Regions from separate parts of the Homo sapiens genome. Here region 1 is linked to region 2. Evidence: promoter capture Hi-C in 16 types of primary human blood cells and fetal thymus (Javierre and others, 2016). All regions are on one chromosome and are shown on one strand. The core of a region is centred on a gene start or on the middle of the fragment in contact, and the rest is flanking DNA. Distances in the headings are between cores, read along the strand shown. Region 1 overlaps KIF21B (kinesin family member 21B). Region 2 holds the start of CACNA1S (calcium voltage-gated channel subunit alpha1 S).

Region 1 (4,647 bases), core at 1,963-4,462, 130 kb after region 2:
GCTTTGTAAATAAGTGAGCCCCTGAGGAATTGCTGGAAGAAGCCAGCTCCCAGGGAGGGGTAGGATCAGGCATGGCTTCCTTCAGCCTTGGGCAGGTATGAGCATTGCTGGGGTGGGGCAGGTGCCCCCAGCTTGTGCGATGGGGCAGCCAGAGAGCTTGGAACCAGCAAACAGCCCTGGAAACGTCTCCCCATGTGTGGGGCTGGTGCTCCCACATCTCCCCGTGGCCCCCTCCTCGCTCCTCCCTTGCCAGCCGAGAGACCCTGGCAGCCCACTCCTGGGGGAGAGTCCCAGCTCCCAGACCAGCCCACCCACCTCCTCCCCTGCTCTCCCGAGGCCCTCATTCCTCTGCCTGTCTCTGCTCCGCTGGAAGAGAATAACCTGCCCTCTGACCACCCCACACACTGCTGCCGCCTCTGCGTCCCTCTGTGTGTGTCTCCTCTCACCCCCTAATCCAGCTAATTTTCTGCCCTCCCCAGGTCTGATGACAGCGACTCCTCTTTGTCGGAGGTCCTGAGGTACACACAGAATGTCTCTCGTGTTTGGTTCCCCACTCTCACTCTCGGCACCCTCTCTTCTCTGTCTCTTGCTGCATCCCTCCCGCCTGACACCCGTGTCCTCAGCATGCGGCCCCTCCACTCCCCTTCCTGCTGCCCCCCTCTCCAGACCTGTTCCTGCCCCCATGGTTCCTCTCTCTCAGGGTGGCCACAAGGCCTTGGACTGCGCCAGCTAGAGCTGGGGGCTTGGGGAGGGTGCACAGTTGCTTGTCGCAGGCCCTGTTCTCTTCTCCCTCCTCACCTGGGCAGGGAGGGGCGCAGCATGGAGGCCTAGGGGATGCTGGGCTGGGGCTGAGTTCTCCACGACTGGAAGGCAGGGGAAATGCTGAAGGCTGCTCCTTTTGGGGGTGCCGGTGGTGTGCTCTGGGTCCTTTGATTCCCTCAGCTTGTGCTGGGGGTGAGCTTTTCAGACGTTGGCTCTGGGAGGGGCACCATGGGGGGAGGGGCACCATGGGGGCAGCGCCCCTTGCCCACACCTGTTAGCACACAGATGTGTGGGTACCTCCCCTTCCCGCAGCCTGTGGGATGGCTGGAGGCTGGTTCTCCCAGCCAGCCGAGCATGACACCGCACAACGAGGAGCAAGACTCAGGACCTGGGGTCCCGAGCCCCTGACAAGCCAAGGGCCCCTCGTGGGCTGAGAGCTTCCTCGGCTCTCCTGGTGGGCTGTCTCAGCTCCTCGAGCCTCCAGCCCTGAGTGTCGACAACTGGTTTACTGTGAATCATGAGGCTTTGCCACCACAAGATGTTAGCCAGCTGGCCAGGCTGTCATCGGGGGGAGCATGATCCCTTTGACATAGTTCTGTGGCCATGCAGTGAAGCCAAACCATTGTCAGAAGCAGGGTGCTGGAGCAGCTTGGGGAGCTATTTGTGCATGTGTGGCACCTGGCTGGCAGCTGGACGTATCCGACCACCATCCTCAAGGGTGGGCCTGGCAGAGTCTGGGGGGAGCTGTGCCAGAAGCGCCACAGGCAAAACCTTGATCATTTCAGTAGACCCTTGGCCAGAGTCACTGTCAGGAGCAGCTTTCTCTTGGGAAAAGAAACAAAGCTAGGATATATTTTCAGACATGACTCAGCCAGGGTCTCATCCCAAAAGACCCTCACTGAGAAAAAAATCATCTTCAGAACCTCAGGAAGCTGGATGTGGCAAAACCCTCACGCTCACTTGGGCCAGCCTCCTTCTCGCTCCCCTAGCATCATGGGAGCGAGGAGGTGTTGTTCCAGGTCCATACAGCCCCATTCCAGAGAGCCCCAAACCTCCTACCCAAAGCCAAGCCAGCCCCAAAGGGATTTAGCCCTTCGTAAATGCCAGTCACAAGTTTGACCCCGCTGGTCCAAAAGGAGTGTGTATGTGTACACATGGCTCTCTGCTTGGAAGATGCTAGCCTCAGAGGCAGTTACCAGCAGAAGGGTTTACTGGGATCAGGGTGCATGGGGGTGATGGCCTGAGCAACCCTCCCTCTCAGCACCCCTCCCTCACACTCGGTTAACTGAAGCAGCATGCAGCTTCTGGTGGAAGCTACAGGGCCCAGTTCCAGCCCCTGGGCCTCTGCCCTGCCCAGCTGGACCCGGGCGCATTCACATCTCAGGATCTGGGTCAGACATTGTCAGATAGGAACTCTCTGTGGACAGAGCCCACACCTCCTGCACCTTCTAGCTGTGCCTAACACCGGGTTTGCTTCCCCAGAAGTGCTCAGGATGGCAACTGATGATTGCTGATTAAGACAGGCTATCTCCACTCTGTGTAGCCCGTTCCCGGCTCTCAGACCTTGGTGGAATTTGGCTGGAGTCCTTAAAGTCTCTGTTATTTGGTCCTCATCCCCTCCCTGCCCTGTCCCCATCCCACACACGTGCCTTGATCAGCCTGGCCACAGTCTCCCTGGCTGACGAGCATGCCTTCTCTCCCTCTCTCCCGGGAAGGGGCATCATCTCCCCGGTTGGAGGAGCCAAGGGTGCACGGACGGCCCCACTGCAGTGTGTCTCCATGGCCGAAGGCCACACCAAGCCCATCCTCTGCCTGGATGCCACAGATGAGTTGCTATTCACAGGGTCCAAAGGTATGTGGAACGCCAACTAGCCAGGTAGGGTTGGGGTCTCCTACTCACCCCTGCTTCCTTTGTCAGAGTGGTCTGTGAAGGAGAAAAGAACATAGAGCCCCCAGGAGTTGAGGATATGGGGTCTATTTGCTTACTACCCTTGTTTCTTACCTTGGCTCAAGGCCCCCATCCCATGCATCCTTGGCCAAGCCTTCCCTCATACCTGACCTGGTGGCTCCATCCAGCACTTCCTTCCAGACCTTCCAGGGAAACTTCAGGAAGCTTCTTGGGTGCCCCACCTGTACTTGCACTGCCCAACATCACCCCAGCTCATACATCTAGGCACTCCCTATGATCTCAGCAGCAGCACTTTACAAAGTCACGCTCACCTGATTACAGCAACAAAGTCAAACATTTTACCAGCAGATAGGCTGGGCACAGTGGCTCATACCTGTAATTGCAGCACTTTGGAAGCATGAGGCAAGAGAATTGCTTAAGCCCAGGAGTTTGAGACTACCTGCGTGGGCAAATAGTGAGATCCTGTCTCTACAAAAAATAAAAAATTAGTCACAATGACATGTGCCTGTAGCCCCAGCTACTCAGGAGGCTGAGGTGGGAGGATCGTTTGAGTCCGGGAGGTCAAGGCTGCAGTGAGCTGTGTTTGTGCAATTACACTCCAGCCTGGGCAACAGAGCAAGACCCTATCTCAATAAGCAAATACAAAATTCTTTATTTACTCTTTCATTCATTCATTTTACCGACAGAAAGAACTAGTCTGTAATAGACACGCATACTATAACACAAGCATAAATATAGCTCTCCACGGCAGTAGGGGGATAGCTGTCAATCTAGGTGTGATTGATTGATTCCAAGTTTTCCCATAACATTTGCTTGCACTGGTTCATTTGCTTTGTCAGCAATTAGTGTTTGGAGGAACAGGCACCATAAAAGCTTAAGAATTTTATTTTAGCCCTGGACACCTTAGCAGTATGGCTCACAAAACTCTGGTGTTAGTGGAAAGTTTGCTTGAGGAACCCTGGTCTGAAGTTCTGAGGGAATTCTCTCTTCCCTGAGTTTTTTACTAGCACACACATGCCAGTGAGCACATGTGTATGTGTTTTTTTCCTCTTCAGACCTGGAGCTCCGTCCTCTGGAGCCCTGTGGATCCCTTTCCCCTATCCTGGGCAGCCCCTGCAGAGGTGGAGCTGCGCCCCCTAGTGGCTGACATCCCTCCCCTCCCTGTGGCTTCCTCCCATCTCTCACAGACCGAAGCTGCAAGATGTGGAACTTGGTTACGGGACAGGAGATCGCAGCTCTAAAGGGCCACCCCAACAACGTGGTCTCCATCAAGTACTGCAGCCACTCGGGGCTTGTGTTCTCCGTGTCCACCTCCTACATCAAGGTGTGGGACATCCGGGACTCAGCCAAGTGCATTCGGACTCTCACGTGAGTAACCCCCGCCTGCCTCACAGTGGTCGGCTGCAGCAGGCTGTGTTGGGTACAGATGCTCCCAGCCCAAGTGACCCACTCAGCACAGCACAGCCCGGCTACATGGGCACAGAGACCATTACCAGCCTATGAACTTGGCTTGACCCTGGGGTACAAGGTGAGATCTCTTGGTTTGGGAGACAGTGTCTGGGGCAGCACCACTAGAGGAATTTTTGGCCTGCCTGGCCTCCACCCACAGCCCAGTCCCCCAAGCCCTGCCCCTTGAGGTGTGTTAGATATCATCCTATGAGTCTGAAAGAGGAGCTAGGAAACAGGGTGAGCCTCCAAAGCCATGCTGGCCACTGCCTGTGTAGGCGACCACCCAGTCATGGCCCTGAGCCCTGCCCCGACAGTCTCAGACACACAGGCATAGGGCAGGGGAGGCAGAACTGAGACCAAGAGCCTTGCAAAATAAAGTGGTTTTTTTTAGCAGAAGTCATGCTACATCCTTACATTAACACTGTAAGCTACAGTCTATTAATTTGATCCTTAAGAAGTAAACAGGCTGGGCACAGTGGCTCATGCCTATAATCCTAGGTATTTTGGAGGCTGAAGCAGGAGGATCA
Region 2 (4,906 bases), core at 2,177-4,676:
GAGCTGGCGCACTCCTAACAGCAGCCATCAGTTTGGGGACCCCGGACAGCCCGGGGATCCCGAAGGCCGCGAGGACCAAGGACCAGGCGCTGGGGTGGGTGTGGAGGACATGGAGCCCGTGGTTTAGGCCTGAGGTGCCCATGTTGGGTGGCAGCAAGAGGCAGGGTGGGCGGGTCTGTGGCCATGCCCATGGGTGCTGCGGAACGGGGTGCGGGCCCTCAGAGTTCCGCGGCGCCATGGGCTGGCTCTGAGAAGGCGTGCACCGACCTCCTGAGAGGGGCCACACTTGTCTAGGGCGATGGCTCTTGTTAGGGAGTCATTGGAAGCCACCCTAAAGGGCGAAAAGAGGCCCTAGCAAGTCCTGGTACCCAAGAGCTGCTGCTAGCGATGTGACTTGCCCCACTGGTGGAGACGGTGCAGACCCCAAGCCGGGGCCATTCGGTGGAGGCCTCGCTCTGGGTCCAGCTCCACGCGGCACCATGAACAATAACTTCTGCCGGGCTCTGGTGGACCGGAGGCCTCTGGGGCCCCCCAGCTGCATGCAGCTGGGCGTCATGCCCCCTCCCCGGCAGGCGCCCCTGCCCCCCGCCGAGCCCCTGGGCAACGTGCCCTTCCTGCTGTACCCGGGCCCAGCAGAGCCGCCCTACTACGACGCCTATGCGGGGGTGTTCCCCTACGTGCCCTTCCCCGGCGCCTTCGGGGTCTACGAATACCCCTTCGAGCCAGCCTTCATCCAGAAGCGCAACGAGCGCGAGAGGCAGCGAGTCAAGTGCGTCAACGAGGGCTACGCTCGCCTCCGCGGCCACCTCCCCGGCGCCCTGGCTGAGAAGCGACTCAGCAAGGTGGAGACGCTGCGCGCCGCCATCCGCTACATAAAGTACCTGCAAGAGCTGCTGAGCTCGGCCCCCGACGGCTCGACGCCCCCCGCTTCCCGCGGCCTCCCGGGCACCGGGCCCTGCCCCGCGCCGCCCGCCACCCCCCGTCCCGACCGCCCTGGCGACGGCGAGGCCCGGGCGCCCTCCTCCCTGGTGCCGGAGTCATCCGAGTCCTCCTGCTTCTCCCCGTCGCCTTTCTTGGAGTCGGAGGAATCCTGGCATTGATCGGGCCTGTGGCCGCCCCCGGCTTGGAGGATGATCCGCCGGCCCCGTCCCACTTTCGGGAGCAGCGGGAGGCTGTTGGGTCACCCGCGATGCGCCGCAGGACGGTGACTGTAGGAGGTCCGCGGCGCTCCCGTGTCTGCGACACCCTCCCTCCTCCACCAGCTTGGGGCGGAAGTGCAGGGCAGCGGGTACGATGGGCACGATAGAGACCTAGGAGCTCCGTGGGTGAAGCGAGGGGCAGGGCCTGGGACTGCTCCGGGCGTCCTGCGTCCCCTCCGGGGTGCAGAGGGGCTCCCCAGGACGGTCATCCCTGGGTCTGGCTCCCGCTCGGCCTCAGGTGGCTCTGCTCCGTCCTTCCTTGCCGCAGGCGCAGTCCAGTCTCTGCGAGTCCCCGGGATGCGAGCCCGACTTTGAGCCCTCGGTTACCATGCCACTGCTCTCCACCAGATGGCCTCAGATACTAGCGACTTCTTTGGGAGCACGCTTACTCCTCGAGAAAGGAACCCAGAGGAAGGGATGGGAGGCCAGATTGCTGCTGGCGCTCAGCCCAGACCGAACCTACAGACTCAGCAGAGGCGACCTGTGTGCCCCGGTGGCGTTCTCTGGCTTCCTGGGTTGGGAGGGGGGGTTACTCCCTCCCCGCATCCCCCCCATGAGGTCGTCTAGTTTTGTCCCAGGTTGGGTGGGGACTGTGGTTTTTTTCCCTCAGACTGTAAGCCTTGGGGGAGGGGGGCGTGCATATAGGTACATAGGCACTGCGTCGGCACCAAAGAGCTAAATAAAAGGATTGTTGAATTTTCTCATTCCTAGATCATTGTCTACCCTCACCCTTCCTGGTGCCCCTTTCTTATTCTCACTCCCAGCCCAGAGTACTTGCTGGGAGGATATGTGGGGTTCGCTGTTAGCTCAGCACATTTAAGATTCAGTGTTGTTAGCTCAGGCGTTCAATGAATTTTTTTTTTTTTTTTTTTTTTTTTGAGACAGGTTTTGCTCTGTTGCCCAGACTGGAGTGCAGTGATTCAATCCCTGCTCACTGCAACCTCCTTCTCCTGGGTTTGAGCAATTCTCCTGCCTCAGCCTCCAGAGTAGCTGGGATTATAGGTGCACACCACCACGCCCGCTAATCTTTGGTATTTTTAGTAGAATGCGGGTTTCACCATGTTGGCCATGCTGGTCTCGAATTCCTCACCTCAAGTTATCTACCTACCTTGGTTTCCCAAAGTGCTGGGATTACCGTGGCTATCCTCAATGAACTTTTCTTTTTGAGACAAGGTCTCACTCTGTCTCACTCTGTCATCCAGGCTGGAGTGCAGTGGCCAGATCTTGGCTCATTGCAGCCTCAACCTCCCAGGCTCAACTGATCCTCCCACCTTGGCCCCCCTAGTAGCTGGGACTACAAACACACACCACCATACCCTGCTAATTTTTGTATTTTTTGTAGAGACAGAGTTTCACTACGTTGCCCCGACTGGTCTTGAAGTCCTGAGCTCAAGCCATTCTCCCACCTCAGCCTCCCAAAGTGTTGGGATTACAGGCGTGAGCCACCATGCCTGGCCTCAGTGAACATTTACAGGGAGCATAGTACATAGGGGGACTGTGCAGAGAAGGGGCCAGAGTCCCAGAGATAATGCACACAACCTTTACACCTGTAGGGATGGGAGGAGATGGGGAAGAAAGATACACAGCAGATGCTCCACAGTGAGGCAGGTGCTATGCCAGAGGTGTGCACACTCAGGGTTGTTCTGGGAGCCTTCTAGCCCACTGGAGAGGGGTTTACTGTTTCTCTGACATGGGATTGCTTGTGGGGGTGGGTTGAGGGTATGCTTGGGGAGTTTTGGCTGATGGTGCAGATACTGAGATGGGTAGGGGCTGCTGTGGAGCTGTCCTGACTTAGGCTGCCCAGTGCCTTCTCCAGACAATGTCATGGGGCTGAGGAGGGGTAAGCCTAATTTTGGCATGAGGGGGCCACTCTGCAGTTTGAGGTTCCATATCCAAGGCTACCTATTCCTGACCTCTGTTGCCCCAGGCTTGAAACCTTCCATCCTGTCTCCCTCTCCCACTGCCCCTGCCCCATCCCAGGCCTGTGTGTAAGTTCTTCCCCCGACCCACCCCACCCTCCTCAGGGGACAGATTGGGAAGTCACTGGCTGGGCTGGGTGGAATGACAGCTGCCTGGCCTCAGAAGCTCAGGCCCGGCAGCGGGGAGCCGAGTGGAGGCTAATTTTACTTGCTGGGAGCGAGGAGAGTAATCCTCCTGCCCCCACTCCTGCCCCCGCCCCCTGGCTGGCTCAGCAGGGCAGGCTCAGCCGACAGCCTCAGCCAGCCTAGTCCCCAAGGCGGGGGCATTGGGGACACAGGGAAGGGAAAGCACTGGGGTGGGGGAGCAGGAGAAAGCCAGATTCCCAGGGAAGCCATGGAGCCATCCTCACCCCAGGATGAAGGCCTGAGGAAGAAACAGCCCAAGAAGCCAGTTCCTGAGATTCTGCCAAGGCCACCCCGGGCCTTGTTCTGCCTGACCCTGGAGAACCCCCTGAGGAAGGCCTGCATCAGCATTGTAGAATGGAAGTATCCTTCAGGGCCCGGGCCGTGGGGGGGGGTGTGCGTCATGAGGGAGGGATTCGGGGTGATCACAGAGCACAAACTTCCTACAGGAGGGCCAGGGAGGCCTGGCACTTAGACATGGGGTGAACTCACAGAATTGAGTGAGGAGCTGGGGGAAGGAGCCCTCGGCTAAGCAGGAGAGGAGGAGGAGGAAGAGGAGGAAGACGAGGAGGGTGGGGGAGGAGGAGGAAGAGGAGGAGGGTGGGGGAGGAGGAGGAAGAGGAGGAGGAGGAAGAGGAAGAGAAGGAGGACTTGGTGGGGCTTCCTGGGCCTGAGTGGGCCACCCAAGTCCTGGATGACAACCAGAGATGCCTACTGACCACCTATGGGTGGGGCCTGTTTCATGGGGACTGTTCCCATGTGTGCCCAAATCCACATTATCATGGGGTGCCACTAGGTTTTTGAAGCACCAGCCTCATTTTAGAATAGGATAGGGACCAAAAAAAGATGCGATGGCCTCTTTGAGAAAACTCTCCCTTGTTTGGGTTGGGTGGGGGGTGACAGTGGACAGAGGTGAGCTGAAGGAAGGCTTCCTCTGGGGGCAGGTCCCAGCTGAGGACAGAGCCAAGGGGAGAAATGGATCTGAAAGACACCTGGTCTCAGTGGCTCCAAGACACAGGCCAAACAAGCCTGGTTGTTCTAGCTCAGACGTGCCACCCTGGGGACAGGGACTTTGAAACTCATGCTATGTTTGCATTTGCTCTGGTGGGGAGAATGATGAAAATATCTGGGTTATTTGGGGAAGGGAGGAAGGAGTGACAGAGAGAAGGGGAGGGCTGTGTCAAGTGGGTTCTGAGAGCGAGGGTGGGGCATATTTGAAATATTTCTGAAGAGTTCTGGAAGGCTGGGCTCCTACCAGCTGTTCCCTAGAAGGAAGGAGAATGAGGGATAACTGGAAGGACAAGAGAAACGTGGGGCAAGTAGAGATAGTTTGGGGTCAGGGTCAGCCCTGTTCCCCTGACCCGCTCTCGGCCAGGCGGTATATCGCCCACATCAAACCCTCCTAGGCCCTCCCTCCTTGCCTCTCTTCTGCAATCAGGTTTACTCTGTGGGTTCTCCCTCTCCTCCATCCTCTGCTCCTCTGCGCCCTGCCCCTGTGGCCCTCCTCTTTTCTCAAACACTGGAGGTTACTGGGAAGAGAATGGGATTTTTCTGTCAAGCCCAACTACGTAATATGCCTCCCCATCCACCCCCAAACAACTCCCT

What was found. The method cuts DNA at HindIII sites, captures the fragments that hold promoters and counts their contacts. A CHiCAGO score of 5 or more calls a contact.
Region 1: a contact is called between a fragment that was not itself captured here and the fragment with the promoter of CACNA1S in region 2, in 11 of 17 cell types (naive B cells, megakaryocytes, naive CD4 T cells and 8 more). The highest score is 8.9, in naive B cells.

The regions. Positions count from the first base shown.
Region 1 is chr1:200,978,927-200,983,573 of GRCh38, reverse strand. KIF21B (kinesin family member 21B) reads left to right here. Exons shown (of 35, transcript NM_001252102.2): 28 at 480-518; 29 at 2,478-2,614; 30 at 3,859-4,039. Among named protein-coding and RNA genes, the nearest start is that of KIF21B, 42 kb to the left of the region's middle. RefSeq lists an enhancer at 3,737-3,886. The HindIII fragment of the contact is 669 bases long and covers 2,878-3,546 here.
Region 2 is chr1:201,110,946-201,115,851 of GRCh38, reverse strand. It overlaps CACNA1S (calcium voltage-gated channel subunit alpha1 S), which reads left to right and starts at 3,426. Exons shown (of 44, transcript NM_000069.3): 1 at 3,426-3,664. The coding sequence starts at 3,513. ASCL5 (achaete-scute family bHLH transcription factor 5) reads left to right here. Exons shown (of 2, transcript NM_001270601.2): 2 at 1-1,909. The coding sequence starts at 480. The coding sequence ends at 1,100. RefSeq lists an enhancer at 79-599 and a silencer at 1,250-1,299. The HindIII fragment of the contact is 9,593 bases long and covers 1-4,906 here.